5 separate regions of the Homo sapiens genome follow, and regions 1, 2, 3 and 5 are each linked to region 4. Evidence: promoter capture Hi-C in 16 types of primary human blood cells and fetal thymus (Javierre and others, 2016). All regions are on one chromosome and are shown on one strand. Each heading gives the region's core, a stretch centred on a gene start or on the middle of the fragment in contact. The rest is flanking DNA. Distances are from core to core; before and after follow the strand shown.

Region 1 (3,273 bases), core at 98-2,597, 490 kb before region 4:
TCCAGCAGCCCCCTCACTGCTTGTGCCCCTGCCCCCTGAATCTTTTCTCACCCTGGCAGCTAGAAAGACTGAAAAGACTGGTCACGTCACTCCTCTGCTCAGAACCCTCCAACAGCTCCTCTGCCTCCTCCTAGCAAGAGCCTATGACCTACACAGCTCAACATGTCCCCCCAAATCTCTCCTCTCCTCTCCTTCCCTCGCCTACTCTGTTCCAGCCACATTGCCTTCCCTGTTGCTTTTTGGACATGCCAGATGCACACCCACCTTGGCCCTTTGCACTTTTTCCCCAGAATTTTCTTCCTCCAATATCCATGTGGCTCACACCCTCACCTTTGTGATGAGATCACACTGACTTCGTATTCACAATTGCAATATCCCCTAACCCTGTGCTCCCTGTCTGGCTCAGCTTGCTCTGTTATGCCTCATGGTACTTGTCACCTTCTGTCCTATTTGAGTCATGATGCATTTGTCTATCATCTATCTCCCTGCAATGAACATCCCTGGGGTGGGGCCAGGGTCTGTTTTGCTTGGTGCTGCATTCCCATTGCCAAGAAGACCTCACAGGCATATCAAGCACACAGCAGGTGCATAACACTTGCTGAGTTTGCTGAATGAATCCCTCCTCTGTATCCTACACATCCAACTGGTCACCACGTCCTGTGCGGTAGATGTCCTTTTTAGCAGGTCCCCTGCACTTCACTGTGTTTGTTAAGCCTTGGCTTGCTCTGTCATTTCATTTTGCTTAGGTGGCGGCAGCAGCCCCTGACAGCCCCTGGCCTCACAGCCCCTGGCCTCAACCCATATCCTCTCCACTCTGCACACAGCTGCTGGGAGACTTTTCCTTAAAACTTGGTTTCTCTCCTTTCCCTTCTGAAAACTGTCAGTGGCTTCCTGTGGCTCAGAGGAATCAATCGAAACATGGTGCTGCTCACAAGGAAACACAACGTTTCTAGGGCCAGTGCTGTCTTTGTCCTGCCTTCCTCCAAATTCAGCCACGTTAAGCCTCAAGCAGATCCTCCCACATAGCTGGGCTTCTTCTGCCTTTCTGCCAGGACTTGCTGCTCCCAGGAGCCTCCTCCCCCAGTCCCTGCAGCCCCAGGTCAGGTGTCTCCCCACCCAGCCTGGCTCAGCTGTCCTTTCCCGTGCAACTACAGGTTCATACAATTTGCTATTGCTCCATCTACTCTATGTGACTCTTGGTTTCTTGAAGGCAGGTATGGGACTCTTTCTTTCCTTCTTTGCTTTCTTTTCTCTTTCTCTTTCTTTCTTTTTCTTTCTTTCTTTCTTTCTTTCTTTCTCTCTCTCTCTCTCTCTTTTCTTTTCTTTTCTTTCTTTCTTTCTCTCTTTCTGTTTTTAGAGACTGGGTCTTGCTGTCACCCAGGTTGGAGTGCAGTGGTGCAATCATGGCTCACCGAACTCCTGGGCTCAAGTGAGCCTCTTGCCTCAGCCTCCCAATTAGTTGGGACTACAGGCATGTGCCACTACACCTGGCTAATTGTTATTATTATTATTATTATTATTATTATTTTTGTAAAGACAGGGTCTTGCTCTGTTTCCTAGGCTGGTCTTGAACCCCTGGCCTCAAATGATCCTCCTGCCTCAGCCTCCCAAAGTGCTGGGATTCCAGGAGTAAGATACCATGTCTGGCCTGAGAAATTTTCTAAAAGGCATGTTTTTGCACTGTCCAATATGTTTTTCTTTTTATCCCAGCCTCTAGCACAAGTGCCTGACTCGAACGAAGCAGGGACTCTGAAATATCTTGAATGAACAAGTAAATGGCACTTGAATAGGTGGCCTCTAATGTGCAGAGGAAGGAAAAGGGAGCTGACGCTTTCCGAGTGTTCAGTACCTTCTAGGCACCATGCTGGGCCTTTTATGTAGTTCTCGATGAATCCTCATGGCATCCCGCTTTGCAGAATGATTCTAGTTACCCAGAGAGCAAGTAGCCCTTAGGGTCAGGACATGCATCTGAGTTGGTCTAGTCCCAAAGCTCCTGGTCCTCTCCTGACATCACTTAAACAGAGAAACAGAACTCCCCTTGGGCTTCTAGGGGCGCTGGGTTCAGGAGGCACAGCCACTCCCTTTGTTCTTCCTGGCAGCTGCCCCACCAGCAGTGAGCCCATCCCACCTCTGGGTTTTCTTTTTCTTTTTTCTTTTTTTTGAGACAGAGTATCGCTCTCTTGCCCAGGCTGGAGTGCAATGGCGTGATCCTGGCTCACTGCAACCTCTGCCTCCCAGGTTCAAGCAATTCTCCTGCCTCAGCCTCCCAAGTAGCTGGGAATACAGGCGCCCACAACCACGCCTGGCTAATTTTCTGTATTTTTAGTAGAGACGGGGCTTCGCCATGTTGGCCAGGTTGGTCTTAAACTCCTGACCTCAGGTGATCCACCCGCCTCGGCTTCCTAAAATGCTGGGATTACAGGCATTCGCCACTGCGCCCGGCAGCCTCTGGGTTTTCACAAGGCTGGTCTGGCGAGGAGGCTAGTCCTCCTCCTCTCTCCATAGGGGGCATTTCCCCTGGAGCTCAGCCTCAACTCAGCCTAGAACCTTCTCCAAGGGTGTTCCTGTGATTGCCTGCTCCACTGGGGTTTGAGGGGTGATAGCGGCTTCTGGAGTGTGCGTGCTCGGAGCATGCTTCATTCTGCTTACACCAGGCCGTGTGGCATTTGCTGGCCTGTATGTCCTCAAGGGCGCCTTGCAGGGCATGCCACATCAGGTTCAGCTCCACGTCCATCCATCCAGACTGCTCAGAAGGGCTGGGGTGGGGCTTGCTAGCTGGAGAGAGTATCAGAATGACCCCAAACTCCTGGGAGAAACCCTAAAGAGCTGCTTGGCCATCTCTTTCAACTCCTTCAAGTCTTTGCTCACAAAGTCCCTTTCAGGCTTGAAGTCAGATGATGTTGGTGCCCTGCCCAGGGGTCCCCAGGTGCTGTGTTGGCAGTCAGAGGCTAGCTGTTGCCCCTTCTCTGGACAACTGCCCTCAGTCAATGGGAGCTGCTTCAACTGGGTCCATGACACCTGCTTCCCAAGGGGACAGCCTGCAGCCAATGACAGACTGATGTGGTGATAGAGAAGGCCGGCCCCCTTGCCTCAGCACAGTCCAGTTCTGCCTTTCTTGCCCCAGGGATCCCTGTGGGGTCGGGCTAAGGCCAAGCTTTGCCTCAACCACACCCTGGCTTTAGCTCTTCCCCTCTGGCTTCCCGCCCTCCCTCACAGGTGTCTCCTGAAATTCCTCTTTCAAAAAATTCCTAACTGGGCACAGTGATGCATGTC
Region 2 (3,230 bases), core at 520-3,019, 450 kb before region 4:
AAATCAGGTTACTGATTAGCTTAAGGAAATTACCTTATACTACTAGTTTACTAGCTGTGTTTTTAAAAATCACTTGTTTGTTGTTGTTGCTTATGGTGTAGATCTTGTTGCTGTCTGTTTAATGACTTTTCTGGACTAATATTGTAGTCTGTATTCTGTGTCATGTGTGGTCACTGAAGTCTCTGCTTGGTGAGTTTAGTGGTCAGATGATGACTGGACAGAGATTCCTTATGCGTCTGAAAACAGTAAGTCTCCCAGTCTTTGCCAAGGGGCCTCCATGTGAGTGTTGGGAAACACTTTCAACACTCAGCCAGGCAAGTGACATGCCTTTCTCAGCCTTCACTTGCTTGTACAGGTCCTCAAATTCAGCCAGAGGTGAGAGCTGAGGGCCTCCTCAGGCCTTTCCTGAACATGTGCACAGCCCTGAGCATGCATGTGACCTTTTAGGTTCCTGGAAATATGTCAGAGATTTTCAAAGCCCCCATGGACATCCCATTCCCCAGCTCCTCCTTTTTGGTTAGTCTAATGTTTGCTCCAACTGTTATCCACCACCTTACGTAGTGTGAAGTTAAACATTTGTCTTTAATTGTTTTCAATGTCCCCAAGGGGAAAAAGCCTTTTCACCCTGAGAAAGTACTGAGTCAGGTTAAAAAAAATTAAAATAAAGAGAGTCTTGCAAGTGGGATCTTCCAGGGAATTACCAGACATGTCAAATAATGACAATTCTTTAGGATTGAGACTTTGAAAGTGTTCCAGCCCTGTTTTGCTCTGTCCGGTGGCTGCCAGGATGCTACTTTGCACTGTAAGTATAGGCTGTTCTTTTTCTTTTGAGGTGGAGTCTTGCTCTGTCACACAGGCTGGAATGCAGTGGCATGATCTCGGCTCACTGCAACTTCTGCTTCCCATGTTCAAGTGATTTTTCTGCCTCAGCCTCCTGAGTAGCTGGGCATGTGCCACCATGCCCAGCTAATTTTTGTATTTTTAGTAGAGATGGGGTTTCACCATGTTTGCCAGGCTGGTCTTGAACTCCTGACCTCAAGTGATCCACCCGCCTTGGCATCCCAAAGTTCTGGGATTACAGTTATGAGCCACCGTGCCTGGCCTAGGATGTTCTTTTTTTTTTTTTTTTTTTTTTTCCTTTTAGGCTGTTCTTTTTTAAGGCAATTAAGGAGCGAGGGAGTGGAAAATAGGAAGGGGCAAGTTAAAATGCCACAAAGCTTGCTGTTTTTAATGAGATTCAGTCATTTTTCTTGAATAAGTGCTCTGTTAATAATGAACTCTGATTAAATTTCAGAGTTCTAAAAAAGTTGATTCTGACCATTTTTTTCGGCCAGTTTTCTCATTGCTTTTATGGAGGAGAGAATTTTCAGAGGTCCTTATGCTCCCATTTTTGCTGATGTCACCTCTTGTATTAGTCAGTTCTCATGCTGCTAATAAAGACATACCTGAGACTGGGTAATTTATAAAGGAAAGAGGTTTAATTGACTCACAGTTCAGCATGGCTGAGGAGGCCTCAGGAAACTTACAATCATGGCAGAAGGGGAAGCAAACACATCCGTCTTCACATGGTGCCAAGAAGTGCCGAGTGAAGTGGGGAAGAGATCATCAGATCTCATGAGAACTCACTCACTATCATGAGAACAGCATGGGGGAAACCACCCCCATGTCTGTTGGGGGCTTCTGGGAATTTTTTATCATTCTTCAAAAAAGTCACAAGGAAAAAATAGTAAGTTTTCTACTTCTAGAAATGATTGTTTCTGATGTAATGCTTGGAACACCTGCAGCCATCTTGGGACCATGAGGCAACCCAGATTGACAGGTTAACATGCCGGGGCTGGCAGAATAAAAAGATGGAAGGATTCTGGGTTCTTGATGATTGTGTTGAAGTGCTTAATCAATGGCAGCCCTGGAGCTGCCATTTTTGTCATGGAAAAGAATACATGTCCTTATACACTATTTTGAGTTGGACTTTCTGTTATTTGGATCCATAAGTGTCATAACTGACACCATGAGGCTGGAGGAGTTTGGAAAATGTACATATATCTTCAGACATATTGCCATCCCCAACAACAGAGGGATTTGCCACTAAACACATATAAAGAGATAAATATGTAGATGTGTGCCTGTGTGTGCACACATTTGTGTATATATTATCTCTAGAAAGATTCTAAGAGACTGGTAACAATTCTTACCTACAGGGGCAAATTTGGAAGACAGACATACTTTTCACTGTTTGCCTATGTGTTTCAATATGTGTTGAAAGTGGTTAGGAACCTGACATTGTGGAAAATAAAATCAGCGATGGAGGGAGTGAACGCAGGAAAAGCTTCTAGGATGCCATGCAACAGGCCAAAGAGATGGAATTAATAAAAAGGAAGGATGACAATTCCTGAAGAACAAACCAGGAAGCCACCTTAAAAATGGAAAGGAAGTAACAATCGAAGGCATAAACTAATATTTTTCTGAGATGAGAAAGGATGATCAAAAGAGCTGAACTGTGTTTCAACAAAACATATTGAAAAATATAAAAAATATTAACAGAGTCTGATATTTCAATGCATCCTGGTGAAGATTTTATGTTTTGGGTAAATGGGAAAAGAAATTCAGTCTGAACTTGGATCTCTCCTTTATCAAGAAAATTGGGTGAATACTACAGCATCAATTCTTAAGTAGATTTTATGCCCATCATTGTTTTGGGAGACCGAGAGGTATGCTCTGAAAGGAAGATATCTTTTTTTTTTTTTTTTTGAGACAGAGTCTCACTCTGTCACCCAGGCTGGAGTGCAGTCTCGCAACCTCGGCTCACTGCAAGCTCCGCCGCCTGGGTTCACGCCATTCTCCTGCCTCAGCCTCCCGAGTAGCTGGGACTACAGGTGCCTGCAACCACGCCCAGCTAATTTTTTGTATTTTCAGTAGAGACGGGGTTTCACTGTGTTATCCAGGATGGTCTCGATCCCCTGACCTTGTGATCTGCCTGCCTCGGCCTCCCAAAGTGCTGGGATTACAGGTGTGAGTCACCGAGCCCTGCCTAAAGGAAGATATCTTAATCAATCAAACATGCTTGGGAAATGCTATAGGCTTCCTTTGGAAATTTACAGAGCTTGTTAACTCAGTAAAAAATGATTTATCTTTGTTTATCCATATTTTCAAATAAAGTTTTTTAATTTTAATTTTATTTTATGCAGAGATGGGGTCTCACTATGTTACCCAGGCTGGTCTCAAACCTGGGC
Region 3 (3,138 bases), core at 401-2,900, 380 kb after region 4:
TCTTCAACAGACAAGTGAATAAAGAAAATATGGTACATATATGCAATGGAGTACTATTCAGCCACTAAAAAGAATGAGATCCTGTCACTTGCAACAACATGGATGAAACTGGAGAACGTTATGTTAAGTGAAATTAAGCCAGGCACAGAAAGACACACTTTCCATGTTCTCACTCATTTGCGGGAACTAAAAATTAAAACAATTGAACTCATGGATATTGTAGAATGATGGTTACCAAAGGCTGGGAAAGGTAGGGGGGAATGGGGAAGGTTAACGGGTACAAAATATAGTTACATAGAATGAATAAGCTCTAGTATTTGATAGCACAAAGTGACTAGAGAATAATTTATTGTACATTTAAAAATATAATAACTAAGGCTGGACGTGGTAGCTCACGCCTGTAATCCCAGCACTTTAGGAGGCCCACGCGGGCAGGCCGCTTGAGGTCAGGAGTTCATGACCAGCCTGGCCAACATGGCAAAAACCCATCTCTACTAAAAATACAAAAATAAGCCAAGTGTGCTGGCTTGCCACCATAGTCCCAGCTAACTCAGGAGGCTGAGGCAGGAGAATCACTTGAACCCACGAGCCGGAGTTTGCAGTGAGCTGAGATCCTGCCACTGCACTCCAGCCTGGGTGACAGAACAAGACTCTGTCTCCAAAATATATATATATGTATGTATGTATGTATGTGTATATGTATATATATAACTAAAAATAGGCCAGGCACAGTGGTTCATGCCTGTAATCCCAACACTTTGGGAGGCCAGCCTGGGCAACATGGCGAAACCCCATCTCTACTAAAAATACCAACATTAGCCGGGTGCGGTGGCGCACGTCTGTAATTCCAGCTACTCGGGAGGCTGAGGCACAAGAATAGCATGAACCTGGGAGGCGGAGGTTGCAGTTAGCCGATATTATGCCACTGCACTCCAGCCTGACTCTGTCTCAAAATAAATAAATAAATAAAAGTATAATTGGAATGTAATACAAATGATGAATGCTTGAGGGGATGGATACCCCATTTAGCCTGATGTGATTATTATGAATGCATGGCTGTATCAAAATACCTCATGTATCCCCTAAGTATATACACCTACTATGTACCCATAAAAATTGGAAAAAAAATTGGCCAGGGGCAATGGTTCACACCTGCAATCCCAGCACTTTGGAAGGCTGAGGCAGGCAGACTGCTTGACCTCAGGAGTTAGAGATCAGCCTGGGCAACATAGTGAAACCCTGTCTCTACACAAAATAAAACAAACAAAAATAAGTAAATAAAAAATAAAATTAGCTGGGTGTGGTGGCACACACGTGTAGTCCCAGCTACTCGGGAGGCTGAGGTGAGAGGATCGCTTGAGCCCAGGGAGGTAAAGGTTGTGCCACTGCACTCTAGCTTGGATGACAGAGCAAGACCCTGTCTCAAAAAAAACAGACCACTGGGACGGACAAACACACACACACACACACACACACACACACACACACACACACGCACACTAGAGCCTTGGCTAACATTTTAAAAATCTCACAACTTATTCCCACATGCCCGTCAGCTTACCCCTTTGCTGATGTAGCCTGACAGCAGGAGGGAGCCTATAATAATGAGAAAGGCGCCAATCAAAAACAGCACAGTGGCAAGTGCGATGGCCTTATAAGGGATCTTAGGAGGGGTTTTCTTAAACTGGAAGAGAAATAGAGATGAAAAAGACAACGAAGAACATTAATGCAAATACCTGGGTTCAAACATTTAATTAATTATTTGTAATTTTTATGTTTTTGTTTGTTTGTTTTGAGATGGAGTTTCGTTCTTGTTGCCCAGGCTAGAGAGCAATGGCGTGATCTTGGCTCACTGCAACCTCTGCCTCCTGGATTCAAGTGATTCTCCTGTCTCAGCCTCCTGAGCAGCTGGGGTTACAGGTGCCCGCCACTACACCCAGCTAATTTTTTTGGTATTTTTAGTAGAGACAGGGTTTCACCTTGTTGACCTGGCTGGGCTTGAACTCCTGACCTCAGGTGATCCGCCCGCCTCGGCCTCCCAAAGTGCTGGCATTACAGGCGTGAGCCACCGCGCCCGGCCTAATTTTTATGATTTTAGAGACGGAGTCTTGCTCTATCACCCAGGCTGGAGTGCAGTGGTGCAATTACAGCTCATTGCAGCCTCGAACTCCTGGGCTCAAGCAATTCTCTTGCCTCATCCTCTCAAGTAGCTGGGACTACAAGTATACGTCACCATGCCCAGCTAATTTTTAAATTTTTCTGTAGAGACGAGGTCTCACTATGTTGCCCAGGGTGGTCTCCAACTCCTGGGCTCAAGGGAGTCCTTCCACCTCTGCCTCCCAAAGTGCTGGGATTACAGGTATAAGCCATCAAGCCCAGTCTCAAACACTTTAAAACAGGGAGGAGAGCTCGCACCTGTAATCCCAGCAATGTGGGAGGCTGAGGCAGGCGGATCACTTGAGTTCAGGAGTTTGAGACCAGCCTGAGCAACATGGTGAAACCTCGTCTCTACAAAAAATACAAAAATTAGCCGGGCGTGGTGGCATGTGCCTGCAGTCCCGGCTACTTGGGACGCTAAGCTGGGAGGATGGCTTGAGCCCAGGAGGTGAAGAGGCAGCGAGCTGAGATTGCACCACTGCACTCCAGCCTGGGTGACAGAGCCAGAGCCTGTTTCAAATACAACAACAGCAAAAACAGGAGGGTAATTAAGAACCAAACTAGATACTTTATGTGTCTTAAGTATGTCCTACCACCCAGTGCAGCTCTGAGAAATAAAAGGGACTGGCAAGAGATGAAGCTCTAGTTATTGCTCTCACAGTTACTCAAAGGAATCTCAGAGGAATGTCATTCACTCTAGTTCGAATCTCATTCCATAAATCATTCATTGTATCATAAGAAACTTTTCTTTAAAACAAAAACAGAAATGACTTTACAGTCATTCATTTGTTAGATATATATTTATTAACTGCCTGGCACATAGATGGCTGTACTAACTTATGGGGATTTAAGAGATCCTGTCTCTACAAAAAATTTTAAAATTAGCTGGGTGTGGTGGCACATGCTTGTGGTCCCAGCTATTCAGGAGGCTGAGGTGAAAAGACTACTTGAGCCCAGAAGGTCAAGGTTACAGTGAGTCTT
Region 4 (3,131 bases), core at 20-2,519:
CAAACAGTCTGTACTAAGATTACACTACTGTGTTTCTGTTTTGTGTGTATTCAGAAGCACAAAAAGTCTGTGGTTCTAGAAAGGAAATAGAAAAGTTCTTAAAAAAAAAAAAGTGGGGAAGTGAAACAAATGTTAAAGTCAGAGGAGAAAGAAAGGCCCAACCGGAGGCCCCAAATCCACCCAGAGCCCAGAAGCCCGGGTTTCCCACCGACCGGCTGCGGTCTTTGTCAGCTCTCTGGCGCTATCTGCTGTCCTTCTCGATAACAACCGTTTAATTTGGTTTGCAAAATTGCTCTGACGCAAATCCACCGTGAACACTGACGGGGTCACATTCAGCATAAAAATCGCATTCTGTTTACAGGAAAATCTGGCCCCATACTTGCTCCCATATTCACTTTTGACTTTGCCTTGCAGTACTAACTGTAACAGGGACACCTGAGCAAGTCCCTTCTGTATAAGGCCCAAAATGGTCACCCAATACCAATGAGTCTCTTGCTTTGGAAAGCCCAGGAATGCACCTCCAGCCCCTTCTGCGCAGCGCTCGGACACCATGTAGAGGAGAAGGCACTCTGCAGAACTCGCCCTCAGCCCGCACCACCTGTCCAGGGGACTGGCTGCGTGTCAATGTGTCTCTGCTCCCGGGGTTCCCGCAGATCTTTAACTTATTGGCCTTTGGGCTAATTCAGTCCTTCAAGCATTCCTCGCCCAACATGCCAGGAAGTCTTCTCACGTGTCTTCCACCCCATACCTACCAGTTCTGTTTTCCCACTACCCGATGAAAGTGTAACCGCCCCCCGGCGCCCCCCCCCCCCACCACCACACACACACCCTGTTGGTCCCATCCTCAGGGCGTGGTGGTCCAGGTGAACGCTTGCCCTCTTTTTGAGCTGAACCTCCCCACAGAGGCTGTCAGCAAAGACTGCTTTGCTGTCCAAGGCCGGCCTTTAGGTACAGGACACTATGCATGTCCAGCGAGGCTTGTTGAAGCCACATCTGTCATAGATATTGATGGGAAAAGCATTTTCCTTCTAACACATCTCATTCCAATTCTAAAAGGCACCTCTGAAGCCTTGCTGAACTTCATCAAGATTTTCACGTGGTTTCCTTAGTAAAGTGTGATGAGAAGGTCCATCCTTCTCAGGATGAAGGAGTGGTCCAGGAAGCCCTGATTGGTCTGCCGGGGAGGGAAGGGCTGCCTTATTTGGAGACCTGCAGGAATGCCACCTCCCCCGGCAGCTCCTATATAGCTGGGCGGACCTGGCTGCCAAGAGGGTGTGCTGGGGGACTGTGCAGCTCGAGGCTCCAGAGGCACACTCCAGAGAGAGCCAAGGTACGTGGGGGGCCACTTCTGTGGTCAGGACTGCTGGTTTCTTATCAAGGCTCGATCCCAGATTGAAAATCATGCAATGATTTCTTTACTCCCACACCTGGGGATGGGTCCCAAGTTCAGGGTAGACTTGCGAGGATACCCAGTCATCACTGGGCTTGCCTTTCTCTAAGTTGGTGCTATAATAAAATGCTACTTTAGGGTTTGTGGGTTGGGATTTTGTTTTGCCTTTAAGCTTCTGCCTATGAAAACTAATCTCTTTCTCAAGAATGCTGTGCTTTTATTTTTTTTATTTGACTCACCTGAAATGATCTATTATGCCATTAATCTTATTTAAGATTTCTCCTTAAAAAAGGAATGATGTGGAGTATGGCCCTATTTAGGAGACTAATGAATATTTGCTTCATGCTTGGATCTCTTTGGAGAAAGTCAGTCTGAGTTCACTGTGCTCAGGAGGCAGAGAGAGTGGGGTGAGGGGGTCCAGATGCTCATAGCCACCCTGGGACAAAGACGAGGCGATGTCTACAAGCAAGGAAAGGTCAGTGAGGCCTCTTTGCAGGCTTCTAGAGATGACTGGATGTGCTTCTAGAGATCACTTCAGCTGTGTTTTGCCTTTTTTTTTTAATATAAGGAGCAATGTGGCATCAGAGTTGAACATTTTATCAGAGGAACATTAGCCACTTTTAGGGAAGCTGCAGCAGGGTGGTGGAGGGTGTGTGAGGGGCGAAACAAGCTCCCTGTCAGCCTCCTCCAGCTCTGGGGCCCCATGGCCTCACAGTAAGTCTTTGCCTAGGAGACAGCTTAGGCAAGCTCCGGTATGGGAACTCCTTCCATTTCCCTAATCCACACAGGCAAAGACCCAGGTGCTAGAATGCCCTGACAGTCGGCCTTGGGAAGTGGATTTCCTTGATGGCTATTGTAGATTCAGGAGCCGAATGTGACAGGCAACCTTAAGGTGTGGGGTGAGGGGCTTTTCCATGACATCAGTGGCAGCCCTTCGGATGTCCCAGGGCCACCTTGACCCGGGACCCTCCTGGTGTTCCCCCAGGCCCTCCTGTCTTCCCTTTCATCTCGTTTTCTCCGAAATTCCTCAAGGGCCCTGCCCTTTGCCCTTTGCCCAGCTCAGGGGGCATCATACCCAGTGAGTGAAAAGCACAGTGTGTGAGCACTGTCTTCTCCTGAAACCCAGATGGGCAGTGGGGCATGGCTAGTGGACACATGCAGTGCAGCATTAGACAGAGCCCAGTGCAGGTCTGCCACCTCCCCGCTGTGCAGCCTTGGGCAAATTACTTAACTTCTCTGAATCCCAGGACAACATTTATAACATGGGGATAATAATGTACCTACTCTATGTGAGAATTAAGTTAGGCAATGTCAGAGAAGAGCTTAACACGGTGGCAGGCATGAAGAAAGTATGCAATAAAAAGCCAGTAGGATAAGCAGATGGTCACACTGTCCCCCAGGGGTGAGATTGGAAAGGATGCCTGGAGCACACTTGACCCCTGGACATAGGGGAGGCAGGGGTCCCTTTGCTACGTTTCCATCTTTCCCTTCCTTCCTCCTCCTCTCTCTCTCATTACTGCAAAGCCCTTTAGGATCAGCAGCCAGTGAATTCCTCAGAATGGATGGCAGAATGCCCCCAAGACAGTGCCAGCTCAGAGCAATAAAGAACAAAGAGGGGAGATTGAAAGTACAATCTAAAGTCGGCACAGTGGCTCGTGCCTGTAATCTCAGCACTTTGGGAGGCTGAGGTGGGAGGATCACTTGAGCCTGGGCAACATAGTGAGACCCCGTTTCTACAACA
Region 5 (3,399 bases), core at 235-2,734, 410 kb after region 4:
TTTTAAAAAACGAAATTGCAATTCTTTTGTGTGCAAGTGTCTCATTGTGAGATTACAGTATGCTTAAGTTGGGGACGCAGTGTTATATGTGTTTTACATCACTTACAGGGCAGTGAATAGAAAGAACAGGAAACACCAAAGGCAATGCTGGAGCAACACAAGTATTAATAAATGCAGGCAGGCAGTATAGTATGGTGGTTAGAGTGTGGGCTGGTAACAAACCTGTTTGTGTTCTAATTCTTACTAGGCACTTTCTAGCTGGGAGACCTTGGCTAAGGTCCTTTTAAAAGTTTTAAATCCATCCAACAAGTACTTACAATGGATGTGTCAAAGACATAGAGGATGCACAGTAAACAAAGTAGACAGCACTTCTGTCCCAAAAAAGGTCTTTCCATAGTCCAGAAGACAAATTTGAAAAACTGAGGAAGGGCCAGGCTCGGTGGCTCACGCCTGTAATCCCAGCACTTTGGAAGGCGGAGGCGGACGGATCACCTGAGGTCAGGAGTTCGAGACCAGCCTGACCAATATGGTGAAACCCCGTCTCTACTAAAAATACAAAAGTTAGCCGGGCGTGGTGGCGCGCACCTTGGAATTGTTTGCGCCCGGGAGGCAGAGGTTGCAGTGAGTCGAGATCATGCCACTGCACTCCAGCCTGGGCGACAGAGCGAGACTCCGTCACAAAACAAACAAACAAACGAACAAACAAACAAACCACTGAGGAAGATCTTAACTGTAAAATTCAAATCATACCCACTTCCAAGCCATGTGTGGATTAAACGAGATAAGCCAACTAAAGCGATTACTCAGCTCAGTGCCTAGTATACAATTAGTGCTTAACAAGTACTAGCGACCGCTTGGCAAAGCAAAGCAGACTGAAGCGTGGGTTTCATTTCTCATCATGTGATAAGTGATAAAATGCTCTTAACCAGGTCGGCTCACCTGGCCTTTCCATTCGACCTAAATAACGTCTACTTACTTGCGTAAGGGAAGAGCTCTGGCCCAGGTCAGCAAGCATTTGTCAGGCTAGAGCCTCCGGGTGGCGCTTCTCGCCCTCAGTAACCGGTTACCTCCAGAACCAGGGCGCCAGCTCCGGCCATCCGCGGTTAAGCGGGAGCTCCCATTGGCTAATCGCACACTGAAACGCACGCCTTTTCCCGCCCCTGACGCTGCCGTCCAATGCGCGCCTCTCGACTCTGCTCCGCCCCGCCCCGCCCCCGTCGCCCTGCCTCCCTGGCGTATTTGCGCCATTGGTGGATATTCCGGACCGTGATGGTGGCGCTGCGCGTGCGCACTCGCTCCGAGCCCTGCTCCCGGGAGAGGGAGCTCTCGGGTCGGGGCTAGGGAAGGCTGACCCCGCTCGGCCCGGGTGAAAGGGCGGTGACGGCACTGGGTGGGGCCGAGCTCCAGGGCTGGCTGCTGGGCTGCTAAGGGAACTGTGAGCCGCTCAGAGCCGCGCGCCTCCCGGGCGGGGCGGGGCCGGCCGTGGGAGTCCGCGCGTGCCCGCGCCGAGCTGCCTGCTCCGGCGGCTTCGCTGCTAGCTCGCGGCGACGTCGGGCCGATTTTCCCAGGATGACAGAGCTGAGGCAGAGGGTGGCCCATGAGCCGGTTGCGCCACCCGAGGACAAGGTAGCGGCAGCGTCGGGGTGGGCGCGGCCGGGACAGCGGCGCATCCGGGAGGCCTGCGGGGGACGCGCGCAGAGGGGTCGTCTTGTTCTCTGACCCTTTGTCGCAGCCGACGGCGGCCCCGGGCCCGGGTAGCGCGAAGGGCCCTCGGGTGCCCGGCCTTCGCGGCGCGCGCGTCAGGGGTCGGCGGGTCGGGGTCCCGGCTCAGGGTCTGACTGAAGTGGCTCCCCCGGGGCGCAGGAAGGAGCTTCTCGGGAGTGGCGCACGGCCTCCTGCCTCGCTGGGCTGGCTGCGGGGACTCCCCTCTCCCCCAACTCCGTGAGGCCTTCCTGGAGGTGAAGATATGCAGAGCCTTCTTAGGGAGGCGGCTCCTCTGAGCGCAACTTAGGCTCTCCGTTCCCTTTTACAATGTTATTATTTTGGGGGGTGGGGGAATCAGGACAAGGCCATAGCATTTGCCTCCTGGGAGATGTAAATCCCTTCTTGGGCATGAAATCATCGGCTTTGAGCAAAGGGGTGTTACCCAGTGAGCCAGTCCGTCATCAGCAGGTGTTGGAGGGCGTCCTCCCGGTTGATGGGTTGTTTCCTGCACCGTGTGGGCTCTGGTGGGTAGGGGAGGAGAGTAGGAAGGAGGCCATCTTGGCGGGGACAGTGGCGGGGGTGACGGGTGGGGGAGTGGACTCCTTTGGGTGAAGTGAAAGATCTGTGTAGGGGAGTTAAGGAAGGTAGGGATTGGTTTTATTACTGTGGAGGTTGAATGGCAGTATAGGACTTTGTAGCAGTAGTTGTGCTTTCCGAGATAGCAGTGATCAGGAGCCCTGTGTTTGGGAAACTGATCAGACAGTGATGTGTAGAAGGGACTGAGGGAGCCTGGACCAGACTGAGGGAGCCTGGTTCACTCGGGATTGCCCATGAGTGACCTGTAGATGTTTTCTTTGGCCCACATATTGCCTTAAAAATCAGAAAGTTTCTCCTAACAATCTAAATTTCTTGCCTGTCTTAGATAATTGGAGGGTCCACCATCACTTTGTCACCTGCTCAATGGTTGGCTGGAGCTGAGGATCATCGGTTCCCACCAATCCCTGTTGCCTTACACCAGGCTCACGGCTTCCCCTAATGCAGCCTGTAACTTTTTGATGACTGGACGCAACGGACATTAGGGAGACACCCAGAAGGAAGAAAGCACAAGATTTGGTGACAGGATGTCAACAGAGCAGTTACACTAGGAGGAATGTTTTTGGTGAAAGATAATGAGATCATGGGTTTTTTTTAAACAACTTTCGTGTTATTGCAGTTGACAGTGGACTATCCAAAGAGAACTGTTCCTACCGATTTTTAGAACATATATTTTGGCCAGGCACAGTGCTGCTCGCCTGTAATCCTAGCTTCTAGGGAGGCTGAGGCAGGAGGATCGCTTGAGCCCAGGAGTTTGAGACCCTGTCTCAAAAAACAAAAACAAAAACATATTTTGGAGAACATTTAGGGCTGGGGCTGAGGATTTAGCAGTCGCTTGCAGAGACAAGATACTTTGAAGTCTCTAATTTTTCATTTGGCTATCCTGGTTCAGCCTGAAAGAATTCTGACTTACCTTGTACTACTAGTTGGTGAGTATGCAGATGTTTGGAGGCTCTGTAGCTCTGTTTAAGGGTGAGATCATGCTTGATGTTAGTGGGACTTTGTGGACCTAGAAGGTGTGAGGAGAGAGAGAAGAAAGAAGGCATGATAGCTGGTGGGCCATGTTTTTGAAAAGCTAACTATGTACAATAATTAGAATGT

The links. The method cuts DNA at HindIII sites, captures the fragments that hold promoters and counts their contacts. A CHiCAGO score of 5 or more calls a contact.
Region 1: a fragment that was not itself captured here is called in contact with the fragment with the promoter of PRND in region 4 in 6 of 17 cell types (M1 macrophages, endothelial precursors, megakaryocytes and 3 more); the score reaches 11.6 in M1 macrophages.
Region 2: a contact is called between a fragment that was not itself captured here and the fragment with the promoter of PRND in region 4, in 1 of 17 cell types (M1 macrophages). The highest score is 5.2, in M1 macrophages.
Region 3: a contact is called between a fragment that was not itself captured here and the fragment with the promoter of PRND in region 4, in 1 of 17 cell types (total B cells). The highest score is 6.9, in total B cells.
Region 5: the fragment with the promoter of CDS2 here is called in contact with the fragment with the promoter of PRND in region 4 in 1 of 17 cell types (total B cells); the score reaches 5.1 in total B cells.

The regions. Positions count from the first base shown.
Region 1 is chr20:4,229,770-4,233,042 of GRCh38, forward strand. All of the region lies in intron 1 of ADRA1D (adrenoceptor alpha 1D), which reads right to left. Among named protein-coding and RNA genes, the nearest start is that of ADRA1D, 18 kb to the right of the region's middle. RefSeq lists an enhancer at 2,541-3,041. The HindIII fragment of the contact is 3,609 bases long and covers 1-3,152 here.
Region 2 is chr20:4,272,208-4,275,437 of GRCh38, forward strand. No RefSeq gene overlaps it. Among named protein-coding and RNA genes, the nearest start is that of ADRA1D, 25 kb to the left of the region's middle. The HindIII fragment of the contact is 1,109 bases long and covers 1,216-2,324 here.
Region 3 is chr20:5,104,627-5,107,764 of GRCh38, forward strand. It overlaps TMEM230 (transmembrane protein 230), which reads right to left. Exons shown (of 4, transcript NM_001009925.2): 3 at 1,562-1,684. Among named protein-coding and RNA genes, the nearest start is that of TMEM230, 6.9 kb to the right of the region's middle. The HindIII fragment of the contact is 4,635 bases long and covers 1-3,138 here.
Region 4 is chr20:4,720,640-4,723,770 of GRCh38, forward strand. It overlaps PRND (prion like protein doppel), which reads left to right and starts at 1,270. Exons shown (of 2, transcript NM_012409.4): 1 at 1,270-1,330. RefSeq lists an enhancer at 1-192. The HindIII fragment of the contact is 8,148 bases long and covers 1-1,560 here.
Region 5 is chr20:5,125,524-5,128,922 of GRCh38, forward strand. CDS2 (CDP-diacylglycerol synthase 2) reads left to right here and starts at 1,485. Exons shown (of 13, transcript NM_003818.4): 1 at 1,485-1,626. The coding sequence starts at 1,570. It also overlaps a transcript of PCNA not described here. RefSeq lists a silencer at 974-1,893 and enhancers at 1,156-1,657, 2,234-2,323. The HindIII fragment of the contact is 13,373 bases long and covers 1-3,399 here.